Regions from separate parts of the Homo sapiens genome. Here all the other regions are linked to region 1. Evidence: promoter capture Hi-C in 16 types of primary human blood cells and fetal thymus (Javierre and others, 2016). All regions are on one chromosome and are shown on one strand. The core of a region is centred on a gene start or on the middle of the fragment in contact, and the rest is flanking DNA. Distances in the headings are between cores, read along the strand shown. Region 1 holds the start of ALKAL2 (ALK and LTK ligand 2). Region 2 has its middle 5.9 kb from the start of FAM110C. Region 3 has its middle 21 kb from the start of LINC01874. Region 4 has its middle 38 kb from the start of LINC01874.

Evidence for each region. The method cuts DNA at HindIII sites, captures the fragments that hold promoters and counts their contacts. A CHiCAGO score of 5 or more calls a contact.
Region 2: a contact is called between a fragment that was not itself captured here and the fragment with the promoter of ALKAL2 in region 1, in 1 of 17 cell types (total CD8 T cells). The highest score is 5.2, in total CD8 T cells.
Region 3: a contact is called between a fragment that was not itself captured here and the fragment with the promoter of ALKAL2 in region 1, in 1 of 17 cell types (total B cells). The highest score is 5.1, in total B cells.
Region 4: a contact is called between a fragment that was not itself captured here and the fragment with the promoter of ALKAL2 in region 1, in 1 of 17 cell types (total B cells). The highest score is 5.5, in total B cells.

Annotation. Positions count from the first base shown.
Region 1 is chr2:286,386-289,893 of GRCh38, reverse strand. It overlaps ALKAL2 (ALK and LTK ligand 2), which reads left to right and starts at 1,803. Exons shown (of 6, transcript NM_001002919.3): 1 at 1,803-1,881; 2 at 2,002-2,311. The coding sequence starts at 2,059. LOC101927262 (a long non-coding RNA gene) reads right to left here. Exons shown (of 3, transcript XR_007085917.1): 1 at 3,270-3,508. RefSeq lists a silencer at 2,239-2,288. The HindIII fragment of the contact is 4,532 bases long and covers 1-2,601 here.
Region 2 is chr2:50,622-54,129 of GRCh38, reverse strand. No RefSeq gene overlaps it. Among named protein-coding and RNA genes, the nearest start is that of FAM110C, 5.9 kb to the right of the region's middle. The HindIII fragment of the contact is 945 bases long and covers 1,522-2,466 here.
Region 3 is chr2:469,917-473,424 of GRCh38, reverse strand. No RefSeq gene overlaps it. Among named protein-coding and RNA genes, the nearest start is that of LINC01874, 21 kb to the left of the region's middle. The HindIII fragment of the contact is 925 bases long and covers 1,305-2,229 here.
Region 4 is chr2:453,370-456,877 of GRCh38, reverse strand. No RefSeq gene overlaps it. Among named protein-coding and RNA genes, the nearest start is that of LINC01874, 38 kb to the left of the region's middle. The HindIII fragment of the contact is 992 bases long and covers 1,051-2,042 here.

The DNA of each region.
Region 1 (3,508 bases), core at 554-3,053:
TTCCGCCCGCACCGCCCGCGCTCACGTGCGCCTGGGCCAGCACCTTCCCGCCGCGGTCCTGCGACTGCCCCGATCATGGTGCAGGCCTTTAATTCTCGCCCACTCCGCCTCTCTGATTGCACTCAGAACACCTTTCCCAAACAGATCGCGGACTTGGAAGACGTCCAGCTCTTGCCCAGAAAGCACCAATCGAATGGGAAAGTGCGCAACTGATTGATAATACATTTTACAAGAATAAAATAAAAGAGGCAAATTGCTGAACTTTCACAGATGTGCCGGGCTTCGGCCAAAGAGCCAAACTTTCTTAAAGACGAGTCCGGGAGGCAAGTGCCCTCCTGCGGGCGTTCCCTGCCGGGGCGCGAGGGACCCGCGGGCCGAGGGTCCAGCGCAGAGGAGCGCGCAGATGGCGCGGTCCTTGCCGGGGAGGGACCTTCGCTCGTCCTCTCGCAGGGGGTCTGGGGAGGGGGTGCAGGTCCTGCCCCTCCTCGGGTGGTCAGCTGTGCGCACCTCGGGGGCCGTGGAGAGTCCTCACCCGCCCATCTCCTGCCTCCTGGCCGCCCCGCCTCGGGGACCAGGGCTTGGGGACCCGAACCTGGGGACTGGGCTCGGGCGGGGCAGACCCCTCGAGGTCCGGAGAGCGGATCCCTCCAAAACGGATGGACTCTAATTGACTTATTAAATGTCGAAGCAATCAGGCAGCTCCCTTTTTAATAGCCCAAGATCTACATTTAGACAAAAACAGAACCGAGTTCCTGGTAAAGGCGTTTCTTCTCATCCTGTCACAAGTGACAGGAACGGAGGGAAACAGACTGGGGGAGGGGCGGGGGGAGGAGAACAGGGGGAAGAGGAGGAGACGGGGAGTGGGGGAAGGTGGGGCAGGAGAGGAGGAGACGGGAGATGGGGAAGGTGGGGAGGGAAGGGGCGCGGGAGACGGGGCGCGGGCGAGGGGGAGACGCGGTGGAGATGCGGGTGGGGGGACCGGGCGGGGGCGGGGGCGGAGTTGAGGGGGAGCGGGAGACGGGGGGAGGCGAGAGCGAGGTGAGGCGGGGGGACTGACGAAGATCCGCATGGGGGTACTAACACTTCAGCGGCTTCTAATTAAAGCCCCGCTCGGAGCCCTTGGGGACCCGCCTGACGTCGGCGGGCGCGGGGATAAGAAGCTCCCCGAGGTCTGAGGCGGGACTCGGAGCCGGCGCACCCCAGGTCGGCCGTGGGTCCAGCGCTCGGAGCGGCCGAGTCCCCGCGTCCCGTGCGCTCCGCCCGCCGGGCATGGAGTAGTGGCGCAGCTCGGGGCGCGGGGACAGACGTGCGCACAGACGGCGACGACTCCGGCGGCTCCAGGTAACCGGCCCGGCCACGACGCGCAGGTGGCTCCCGGGTGGCGCCGGGCAGGTGCGGGAGGGCGCCATGGCCGGGAGGTGGAGGGGCTTCCAGCACGTGGCGCGGCCGGGGCCAGCGCGAGGGTCCGCACCCGGCCTCCTCCGTGGGCTTCGGGGACTCGGCGCTCGCCGGCGACCACCGCGCAAAGGCGACGCTGGAAACTTGAGCGCGGCCGCCGGGCCCGGCGCGCGGCGCCGCCTTCTTGGAGAGCGGTAGGCGCGGGAGCGCGGCCCCTCCGAGGTCCGCCCGCGGCCGGGGAGCTGCCTGGCACCCGCGGCTTCCAAAGGGGAAAGAAAGTTGCGCCCGCGCCAGGCGCAGCGCGCTCGGCGGACGCGGCCTTTCGGGCGAAAGTTAGGAGGGGCCGGGCTGGCGGGCGGGCGGGTTCCGGGGGCTCCTTTCCGCACCAGCGGCGGTCGCTCCCCGTGGGCGGGACCTCGGGCGTGATCGTCGAGGAGACCGCGGCTCCCTCACCTGCCGGCTTGTTCCTCGGGGTCCGCGGAGGTGAGGGGCCGGGTCCAGCGCCAGCGGCTCCTCCCGCCTCCCCTCCCCTCCCCCGCCCCGCGCTCCGTCCCCCTCCCCCGCTGACTTTCTCTCCGGCCCCCCGCGCCCCTTCTCTCGCAGCGAGCCCAGCTCTCGGCGCGTGTCGGAGTCTCCCAGCCCCGCGGCCCCGAGCGCACGATGCGCGGACCCGGGCACCCCCTCCTCCTGGGGCTGCTGCTGGTGCTGGGGGCGGCGGGGCGCGGCCGGGGGGGCGCGGAGCCCCGGGAGCCGGCGGACGGACAGGCGCTGCTGCGGCTGGTGGTGGAACTCGTCCAGGAGCTGCGGAAGCACCACTCGGCGGAGCACAAGGGCCTGCAGCTCCTCGGGCGGGACTGCGCCCTGGGCCGCGCGGAGGCGGCGGGGCTGGGGCCTTCGCCGGAGCAGCGAGTGGGTGAGTGGGGCCGAGCGCGCCCGAGGGCCGGGGCTGCTGGGAAATAGAATTGTCTTTGAGAAACACGTTTCAAAAAGAGACATCAATTTTGACCACTGAACAGCAGGATTCCTTTTTTTTTTTTTTTTTTTTTTAAGAAAAAGAAAATAGCAGCAATAGGTCCGCGCATGAGGCCTGGCGGAGAAGCGCCTGGTCTCCTTCTGGCGCGCGTGAGCTGCGGCGCGGGTCGGTGGTTTCCACACTAAACTGTCAACCGTCACTTTGGAAATGGAAGCATTTCCAGCAAAGCTTTCCCAACTGAAAAGGAAGCATCCAGGCTCCTTCATGGCCCTGCCCAGAGTGGTGGCCCACGGGGAATTTCCCAGGAAAGCATGAAAGCGTCTAATGCTTTTGTGACACAATCAGGTCAAACATGATAAGGTCAGTTTTATCCCGGCTGCGTCAAGTTAGGAGTGAATGAAGACTCACTAGGGGGTCAGCTGTGGATGCGAATGCTCCTCTTCAGAGGGCGTGACTTCACACACAGTCGGGGCTCAGCCAGGAGCCCTGAACGGGGGAGTGAAGATGGAGAGGGCTGTAAATACGCAAAAACAAAGCTGAACTCAAGAAGAACGCCCTTGCAGGGTTCTCCCCACCCACTGTGTGCGGAGAACCCTGGTGGAAGAAGTTTGCTTGGCAGAGTCTTTCCCTGGGATTCTTACCCTACAAACCAGGTTCATGCATATTCCCACTAATTTACACCTCACTGAAACGTGGTCTTTTAATCCTTACTCTAAATATGTATCTAGATAAAGTAATGTTCTGTAACCCATTTTTTTGTTTGAAGGGTCAGGTTTTCTCTAAAAACTTTGAAATGTTGTGGGATTTGATTCCCAAGGTCCTTAAAACTAAAGTGCCTAAAAGTGACTTATTCACTGGAAGTTAAATGTTTAAAAGAAAAAAAAAACAGTTTTCTTACCTCTGTAACTTCGTGGTCTCTGTCTGCATCCCACGGGGTAGACAGCCGACATAATCCTGGAGCTTCAGGAGCAGTTACTGTTATTTCAAGGAAAATAAATGTCCCTGATATTGAGTCTTCTTCACTGTCGTGTGTTGCAATCCAGGGCCCCAGTCTTTTTTATTTTGTGCAAAGCAACTTGGCTAATATGGAGCTCCAATTTTCTTCAACATTCACTTAAGATCACATTTTTAAAAAAT
Region 2 (3,508 bases), core at 745-3,244, 240 kb after region 1:
AATGGTTGTCATGTTTGATCACCTTTTCTCCTTCTTGGATGCCACCTCAGCTGAATTCTCCTGAGCCTTCCCCTAGCATGGGGCTGCTGTAGTGTAGACAGATAGTTGTCTCTAAGCCATTTTTTATGATCGTTTACCTTTCCCCTACTGACTTAAATGCTCCCTATATTATATATAATTTGAGGCTATTTTTTAACTGACTTTTTGTCTATCTCTGCAACACTATCATACTTTGTTACTATAATTTTATAACAAATCTTAGATAGCTGTTTTGCAAAAAAAGTTTCCTTCTTGTTTTCATTTTTTTTTCAAAATTTTCTTAACTATTTTTGGACATTTATTACTTTTAAAAAATTTTAATAATATATTTAATTTAAATCAGTATATATGAAATACCATTTCTTCAATATAAAATGTAACACACAACATCTTAACTCAGACTCTCCACATTTCAAAGGCTTAATAGCAACATGTGGTCAACGGTTACCATATTACACAATGCATTGCACCTTTACTCTTGCAAATAATTTTTTGAAATTTTTGTCAAGTTCTATGAAGAAAAAAGTTGGAATTTTGTTTCTTGAACTCCTGGTCTCAAGCGATCCTCCTGCCTCAGTCTCCCAAAGTGCTCAGATTAAGATATGAGCCATTGCACCCAGCCTAGGGTTTTGTCTCTAATTGCATTGAGTTCCTCTTTAAAAAAAATTTAAGACGATTCACATCATTACAATGTTGATTCTGACTATCCTTGAATGTGGCACATCTATTTATTTATCTCTTCATTTATATCTGTCAAAATATTTTATAATATTCTATAAGCATGTCTTGTGTCTTTTTGAGATGTATTACCAGATTCCATATGGATTTTCTTAGTATTATGTCTTGATTATTTTTCCTGGTACATTTTTAAATTGATTATTGCTAGTGTTTATGAATATTCTTTATCTTTGCATGTGTTCTTTGTCCAACAATCTTGTTGAAATGTCTTGTTAGTTCTAATACTATGTCCAGTCTCTTGGAGGTTTGAAATAGTCAATTACATTGCCTGTTATAAGGGGAATTTTGCCTCTTTGTTTCCCCCAGTCTTTATACTCTGTAGTTATTTTTTTCTCTATTTACTGGCTAGAAAGCCCAGTACATTTGACTAACATGGACAATAATGTGTATCCTTATGTTGTTACTATCTTTATAGAATGCTTTAAAAATCCACCACTAAGTATGGTGCTGAAGGTAAGGATAGAGCCCCTTTAACAATTTTAGGAATTTCTCTCCTGTTCCTAGTTTTCTATCAGTTGACAAATTTGAAAGTATGGAGTCGAACACTTGGCACCTAATATGGACTCAGTAATGTTTCTTTAATGAATAAATGAGAAAAAACTCAATGTGTGCTTGCCTGTCATTTTTCCCTGTACTTACACAGTTTTAATATTTATTCTTATAATATATACCAATAATTCTTAAACATTTTATTCTCAACACCTCTTTAACACTCTTAAAAGTTATTGAAGGTCTTAATAAGCTTTGGTTTAATGGCTTATATCTATTAATATCTACTATATTAAAATATAAGTTGATCAATACTTTTTAATTTTTTTTTTACTTTTTTTAAGAGATGCGGGTCTTGCTATATTGCTCAGGCTGGTCTCAAACTTCTGGCCTCAAATAATTCACCTGCCTTAGCCTCTGTATTCATCTATTCTCACATTGCTATAAAGAAATACCTGAGACTAGGTAATTTCTAAAGAAAAGAAGTTTGATTGGCTCAAGTTCTGCAGACTATGCATGAAGCATGGCAGCATTTGCTTCTGGGGAGGGCTCAGGGAGCTTTTACTGATGGCAGAGGACAAAGTGGGAGCAGGTATCTTACATGGCAGTAGCAGGACCGAGAAAGAGAGTGGGGGAAGTGCCCCACACTTTTAAGCAACCAGATCTCGTGAGAACTTCCTCACTATACAGTACCAAGTGGGGACGGCGCTAAACCATTCATGAGAACTCCGCCCTCATGATCCAGTCACTTCCCACCAGGCCCCACCTCCAACACTGGGGATTACAATTTTACATGAGATTTGATGGGGACACAGATCCAAACCATATCGGCCTCCCAAAGTGCTAGGACCACAGGCATGAGCTGCCAAATCTGGCCTGATAAATGTTTTGAATGCACACATTATTAGCTCTAAATATTCTGGCATTTCAGCAGTCACTAGGTTCTTGATAACTCCACTATATACTCATAAGAAATGGAGAAAGAAAAGACAATTCAATTCTTAGTCTTGTAACCATGGTAACAACTTAAGCCAATTTACCATTGCATAAGTTGTTATAGGTAGCACAGAGCCAAAACTGCAAGTCATGTATCCCGGGCATGTGCAATGAAAAAGATTTAACCTAACTCTTTACACCACTAGCCCGGCAGGCCAGCTGCATTGGCATCACCTGGGACTACTTAGAAATGCCATAAAAGCTTTACCCACCCCAAGATCAGGGAGACAGATCTGAGTGTTGCCTTCTGTCTCCTTGCCAGTCAACTCACAGTAAAGCTTTATCTTTTCTCAAAAGCCAGAGCCATAGTATTTATATCAGTCTGTTTTTGCATCACTATAAAGAAACACCCGAGGCTGAGTAATTATAAAGAAAAGAGGTCTAATTGGCTCATGGTTCTGCATTCCATACAAGCATGGCACCAACATCTTCTCTGCTTGTGGTGAGGGCAAGAAGTTTACAATCATGGTGGAAGGTGAAACAGGAGCAGGCTTGTCACATGGTGAAGGCAGGAGCAAGAGAGAGAGGGGAGGGATGTCCCAGATTTTTAAACAACCAGATCTCCATGAACTGACTGAGCAAGAACTCATTCATCACCAAGAGGACAGGGCTAACCATTCATAAGGGATCTACCCCTACTGTCAAATCCCTCCCACCAGGCCCCACCTCCAAAGTTGGCAAGCACATTTCAACATGAGATTTGGAATTGACAAACATCCAAACTATGTTAGCACTAGTTCTATGGACTTTGGGCATGAAGCCTGTTGCTTGGTATCAATGAAAGTAATTTTGACCTCATAGACCTCCCAAAAAGATATCAGGAGCCCCCACATTCCCTGGACTGTATGCTGAGGACTGCTTCTATATTCATGCTATTTTTAAAATTTCATACACATCACAATCACTTCCCACTCTGAAAAACACTCTGGAAGCATGACTGTAAATGGATGCATAATACTCCACCCACAGGTAAGTCATACATCCTCCAGCCTTCCTCCTGTACTTGCATGTAGGTTGACCTCCCCCATTTGACTGCAATGAATATCTTCATGCGGTGCACACATCTCTTATCTGTTCCTTAGAATACATTCCTGGGAGTAGAGTTCCTAGATTATTGAGTCCTTAAGCATTTTTTCCTGCTCTGACCAAGTCTTTTGAAGTGATTCTAGAAAGGAAATGGACACAAAGATGACACTATCAGTTGAGCAACAAGAACAACTTATTTAGATAATTCTCATCAATATTA
Region 3 (3,508 bases), core at 518-3,017, 180 kb before region 1:
GAACTTTTCCATCTTGCAAAAGTAAAATTCTATATGCATTAAACAACAACAGCTCTATTAGTTTTTGCTTTATATATTTTGAAGCTCTATTGTTTGGTGCTTACATGTTTGTTGCGTATATCTTACAGGTGGACTAATACTTTTATAATAATGTAATGTTCCTCTTTGTCTCTAGTAATTTTCTTTGCTCTAAAGTATACCTTATCTAATATCAATTTAGCCACTTCTGCATTTTTAAAAAATTAACATTCCCTTTTCCATACTTTTACTTTCAACCTACCTATATTGTTGTATTTGAAGTGAGTTGCTTATAGACTGCCTATTGTTGGAACATATGTTTTTATCCACTCTGATAACTTCTCTTTTGATTGGTGTATTTAGGCCATTCACAATATGGGTATTTAGGATATTTTTAGGGCTTAATTCTACTATTTATCATTTGTCTGCTATTTATCATTTTCCTCTATTCTCCCTTTCTATATTTTTCTTTTCTTACCTTCCTTTTAGATAGTTGAGTCCCTTTGTGGGATTCTATTTTTAATTATTTATAGATTTTTGAGTATACAACTTGGTATAATTTTCTTTGTTGTTGCTGTAGGTATTACAATATACATACACAACTTATCACAGTTTAGAACACATGTTTAGGATGTTGAGTGAAGTATAGAAATCTTATTTCCACCTAAATCCCATTACTCTCCCCAAGTTTAAAATATAATTGTCCTAAACATTTCTTCCACATACATTAAACACCACCTTAGATAGTATAACATCTTACTTTAATTGTTAAAAGTGATTAAGAAACCCTTGAGAAACAGAGCAGTCTATTACATTTACTGGATTTAGAATTCTGGACAGACAGGTTTTTTTTCTCTTTTTATCTTTTTTAAATTTTTTTATTTTTTGAGACAGGGTCTCACTTTGTCACCCAGGCTGGAGTATTTTTCTTTTCAGCACTTGGAAACTGTCTCCCCAGAATTCTATATTCTGTGAAAAAAAAATTTCAAGGGAAAATAAAAATATTTCAAGTAAAAGAAAATCTAAGTTAACGTATCAATAGCAAGCCTGAGCCTGCCCTTAAAAATTGCTACAGGACATTCTCCATACAGAAAGGATATGATAACTGGAAAAGGGAACTTCAGAAAGGAAAGAAAAAAACATTGGAATGGATAAAAATAGGGGTAAATATATAGACTATTATGCTTCTGAAGAGCCTCTTAAATTATATTTGATAGTTAAAGAAAAAAATTATCACAGCATGTCATGTGATGCTCAATGTATAGTTTTTAGATTTTCCTGAAGCTTTCTATTTGTTAATTTGTTTCAAGGTAATTCATAAATGTTTGTTGAAGCATATTTATATTGCTGCTTGAGAGCCCTTGCTAGATAACTCCAGCATCCAGCCATCTCACTATTAGTATTTGTTGTCTTTCCTCATTTATGTTATAATTTTGCTGCTTTTAATGTGGTAAGTGATTTTACTGCATCCTGGACAATAAGTGGGAGACTATCTATTATACGTAGGAGATTATCAATTTACTATATGAGTAGAGTCTGCACCTTCTTATCTGCTTTGCTGGCAGGCAGTTTTCCTGCTGAGGCATAGCTTGGCCAGGTGGGGATCTATGTCCAGCTTCCCACTGGGACCCTGTGACGTCATCACAAAAGGCCACTGACCACATCCCCTTGGTGCCTCCAAGTGGGGCGTGAAATCATTTTCCTTCCGGGCTTCGCTGACACCAAAGAGAAGAGGGAGGTCAGCAGAGAGCCAGCTACCACCTCTTACCACCACCTTCTGCCTTGTAGACACCAGGTGGGGTGGGAGCTCGGCTCCGTGCTCGGACCCACTACCTCACACTGCCTGTTAGATCCCACTGTTGCTGGGAGAGGATGGACCCCACTGACACTACTCTGGGGGAGGAACCAAAGCACTGCTGCCTCCATGTGAAGGGGATGGGAGACCAGGCCGTCCTCGCTTCTGCAGTACAGACCCCGGGAGGCATCAGAGCTTTCTGCTTCTGCTCAAGGTGGGATGCAGACTCGGGCCCCACTCTGCCCAACTCCACCCCACCAGAGGCAAAGAGAGAAGTGGAAGATCAGCTTTCTCTTCTACCCTCTAAAACCAATGTTTTATGTTTTCTGAAGTAGAACAATACTGCCTTTTGTTTTCTATGGTTAGGCAACCTTGGCCCAAGCCTTTGACAAAGGAAGGAGGCTTTCCTTGAAGCTTTTGTGCCTGTGGGCACTAGTAGTTTGGTTAGAGTTTCTGCAGCTCCTGTCTGGAATCTATGATAACAAATAGGCAGTCAGGGAACTCACCTGTTTTGGATAGAACGAGTTGCAAGGATGTCAGAGACTCACCTGTCCTGGGTGAATGGGAGTTTCAGGGGACCAGGGACTCACCTGTCCTGGGGGGATTGGGACCTGCAAGGGGGCCAGAGACTCACCTGTTCTAAGTGGATTGGGAGCTGCAGGAGAGCAGGGACTCACTTGTTCTGGGTGGATGGGAGCTCCAGGGTCAGGGGGCAACTCTGTTTTTCCTCAGCTTCTGAGGTCCCGAGGCTGCCTGTTTTCTTCTCCCCTTTGGGAGAAGTGCTTGTGGTTATGTCTAAGGTGTTTCAGTTTAAGGGGCACCCCGGCGAGGAATGCGGCAGCTCCATCTCAGAGAAGTGGACATCCTGGTGCGCCTTTCTTCAGTGCTGATAGTTTTAAATGTAACTTTATATTTATAATTTTCCATTGTCCTCTTGCAGATAGGCAGTCAGAATGCAAGGGCTTGTCTTTGTGATTGTGGAGCTTGAGAAAGATGTGGCATTGCCTGCTTCTGGCACTTCCCAGGCATTCATTTATTTTTAGCTTTGATCCTTTCCTGATATCTGTTTGGGATCAGAGACTGAAAGAGGAAGTGTGTATGCTCAATAAATTGTATTGTTCCACAAACTTTTATTTGAAGACAGCTATAAATTTGATCTATAAAAGAGATTATAATAAGCCCACATTCCAGCTCTTTTGAACATATAGGAAACACTCATGTTCATAAAACAACTAATATAATAAACAAAAATATATCCTAACTGCCCAGTTTTTGTGTTCCCGAAGGATTTTCCCATGCTACAGGTAAATAATAAAGTAACACTGTCATTCTTAAAATGCATACCTGCACCCCAGCAAACTCTAATGCTGAGTCATTTAGTAACGGAAATAGTTTATTAAGATGTGCAGTGTAATTTTATGTGTCTTTCCTACCAAGGCCATTTTTTAAAGGAAAGCACAAGGAGAAAAATTAACTCATCAGATTGTCAAATCACACCGCTGGATTTGAAAAAGTCAAACACGGTGAGGTGTGCAGGTATATTTTTACAATCCGGACAAAGCCAAATGAGTGTACACCTCATTTTCGTGAGCCGTTTTGGAAACCTGGGAAGACATTGGTAGACATCATTATACAATTGGGCACATTGATAGCAGATTGAACAAGACAGAGAATTTATCATGATCATGTCTATTC
Region 4 (3,508 bases), core at 297-2,796, 170 kb before region 1:
CCAGTAGGCTGTTTGGCTTCTGGACTGGATAGGCAATGTGTCTTCTGTAGGATTTTAAACAAGCATTGATATGGTTTGACTGTCTCCTCACCCAAATCTCATCTTGAATTGTAGTTCTCATAATTCTCACGTGTTGTGGGAGGGACCTGGTGGGAGGTATTTGAATCATGGGGGTGGCTACCTCCATGCTGTTTCCATGATAGTGAGTGAGTTCTCACCAGATCTGATGGTTTTATAAGGGGCTTTTCCCCCTTAGCTCTGCCACTATGTGAAGAAGGACATGTTTGCTTCCCCTTCTGCCATGATGTTACATTTCCTGAGGCCTCCCAGCCCTGTGGAACTATAAGCCAATTAAATCTCTTTGCTTTATAAATTTCTCAGTCTTGGGTATGTCTTTATTAGCTGCATGAGAACGGATTAATCCAAGCATTTATAAAGGACATTAAATATTTGTATAAAGTGTTATTTCCTGAGTCTTTTAACAATGCTGCTCAAACTCCCTGTTTAGGATGGCATGTTCAGCAGCTGTGCTGAGCCCACGTCTCCCAGGTAGGATGCTGGCCTCTCTGTCCAACCTTCTGGTGACTTCTGGGTGGGATAGTGGCCTTTCTGTCCACCCTCCTACTCCACACTCCCTCCCTCCTAATACATTCAATTCCATGTTCCCCAACTCTTGGGAAATCCATGCCCACAGCAATGAGGTAGGACTAATGGGTCTTTCTGTTCAGTGAGGTAACACGGAGCCCAGGCTCAAGGTTTCTGCAATTATTGTGCTATTGTGCTCTGTTCACCAGCACACCCCTTTCCAGGGTGTAATTATTAAGCAAATTCCGCAGCCTGAAAAGAATGATTATTCTCATTGAAGCATGTTTTTACAAGGCTTACAACAGAATTGCTCCAGGATACATGCAAGATATGTTTGTTTGTCACTTGAATTTCTTTTGCCAACATTTCAGGCTCTACCTAGAAATATAAGCAATTTGATGCTTTAGAAATCCTGTGGGTAATTTAAACTTATATTCACATGGTATATTAAACATAGATTAAGCTTTGTTTTAAACTTGTAATTGTACTGTGTTTTCTAATCTCAGAAATTAAAAGATCAAATGATCAAATTAGTGGTTTTGAAGTGAGTTATTGACAGAGAGCATCCCCACAACTAGGATAGAAGGGCTGTCATGTCACAGCTCATTCGGAAAAGGCAGCCATGGAGAAGGAGAGTAAAGAGGAGTGGCAGAAATCCTGAGCTTGTAACTCACTTTCTGGAAACTGTCTCCAAGATAAATTCCGTTAAACACTTTCTTTAAAGGCAGTATTTCACAGCCCACCACTGCTCTATGGTTTTGCTTCTCTTTTTCAGTCCTAACCCTGGATCCCTCTTATCTGCCACAGACGTGACTGCAAGAAACCTGCGTCCACAGACACGGCTCTCCCAAGTGAGTGGACATCCCAGCGGGGAAGCACCACACATGTGATGGACAGCTCAACTTCCTCCTGGGTTTTAGGTGTCCTCCGCATGTGGAGGTGTTGAGTGCAGGTTCCTGGCACCACGCGCATGGCTGACCCAATGTCGCCCAAACCACAAAAGTCACACAAGCAGGTTCTGCAGGGCGATGGGTTCCCTCTCATAGCAGCCGTGCACACGGGCCTTTCATGAGAAACTCTTACAGGAAATGCTGGCCCACCCCTGACTGAACCATGAAATCACAAAGTTACAGGATGAAACAGAAGAATCAACACACTGCCATGCAGAGTCCAGAGACCCCGCAGTCTAGAAAACAGGGCGGAGCAAAGGGAAAGCCAGCAGCTGCCAGCAGCTTCTGAGGACGGCAGAAAGTGCTGCGTGAAAGGCCTCTGCACACCCCACGGAGTGGCCTGGGCATCCTTAGACGCCGGATCCTTTGCAAGTCAAAGAAAGCGTTCAGTCCTGAATAAGATTTTGGTTTTGATGGCACTTATTGATCATGTTGTACTTTTTGCCATTTGGGACTTGGTATCTCTGGGGATCTCCGTCATACTTTAATCCAATGCTAGACAAAGCTTTATGCAGAATCTTTTCATTACAAATACAGTTCTGCCGGACTAGAAAGCTGCACTGTTCTGGGTACCTGCCACCTGTTCAGCATTGCTCTGGGCGTTGAGGACACAGCGTGACCACACCAGCCCTTGCCTGGCCTCCCGCAGGCCTGACAACACAGACATGGGTTTGGTTAGGGGGAAATCAGGGTCTTCTATCGGTTACATTTCTGTGCAGAAAAAAACTATTTTTAGCTAAACATCTACTCTACTACAATAATTTAAAAATAATTATCGACTTAAATCGTTATTGAGTGTGATATTGTTTCTAAATTTATTTGGTCATATTATACTGATTAAACAAGATTTTTCACATTTGTGTGTGCAGTTATGGCTCGTTATATTTTATGAGAATGTTGTTTGCTAAGCCTCTCGAGAATAATTGGACCAGGCACGGTGGTTCACACCTGTAATCCCAGCACTTTGGGAGGCCAAGGTGAGAGGACTGCTTGAGGCCAGGAGTTCAAGGCCAGTCTGAGCAACATAAGGAGATCCTGCCTCTACGAACTGCGCTGGGCATGGTGGCATGTGTCTATGGTCCCAGCTACTTGGAAGGCTGAGGCAGGGGGATCATTTGAGCCTGGGAGGCCAAGGCTGCAGTGAGCTGTGATAGGTTCATTGTACTCCAGGCTGGGCAACAGAGCCAGACCCTACCTCGAAAAAAAAAGAATAGAATAAAAAAGAAAAGAAGAGAAGAGGGGATGGGAGTTTTTACCACATTTTAAAAGTCCCTTACCTCCTAAGTAGGATTATTTAGAATGACATAACAGAAAATTCTGATCTCTGGGATATCTTTCTCTTAGTTCCAGCATAAGTATAAATTAGGGCAAGTTCTGAGCATTTTCATAATTTTTTAAAAACCTCCTTAATTTCCTTATTTATCAAGCAGGATAATTGAACATACATCAAAGTATTTCATGTGAAATTAAGACATACATCAAATACTTAGAAGTATGTAGACATTCCCTGGCTTCCCTGAGCATTTGCATAATTTTCTCCTCCTGTGATCTGCAAGCACTTTGAGTCCTACGACCCCCATCACTGAGAATAGCGGTTGGCTCATAAGAGGTCCTTAGTAAATGAACGATTGGATGATTCCTGTTCATTAGATCTGCACTGAACATGCAAGTTATGACACGTTTACCCAATTATCTTACCCCTGGAATTAGGTTAGGCAGTAATATCATAGCCTCATCCTCAGACAAAAACCTAAAAGTGATTATATATTAATGCATGTCGTTTCTAAGGCCACAGGTTGTCAGCAACACCAGGGCTGGCACTTGTCCCTTGCACGTGCACGAAGGGCGACCCCCTGACATTTCACTGCTTGGCACAGGCAGCCTGCACCGAAGGCCCATGGCATTTAGTTCCCTTAAGGATGTGCGAGCTCTTACCACCCCCTCAACCCACAAATTCAGCTGAGTAATTTTAC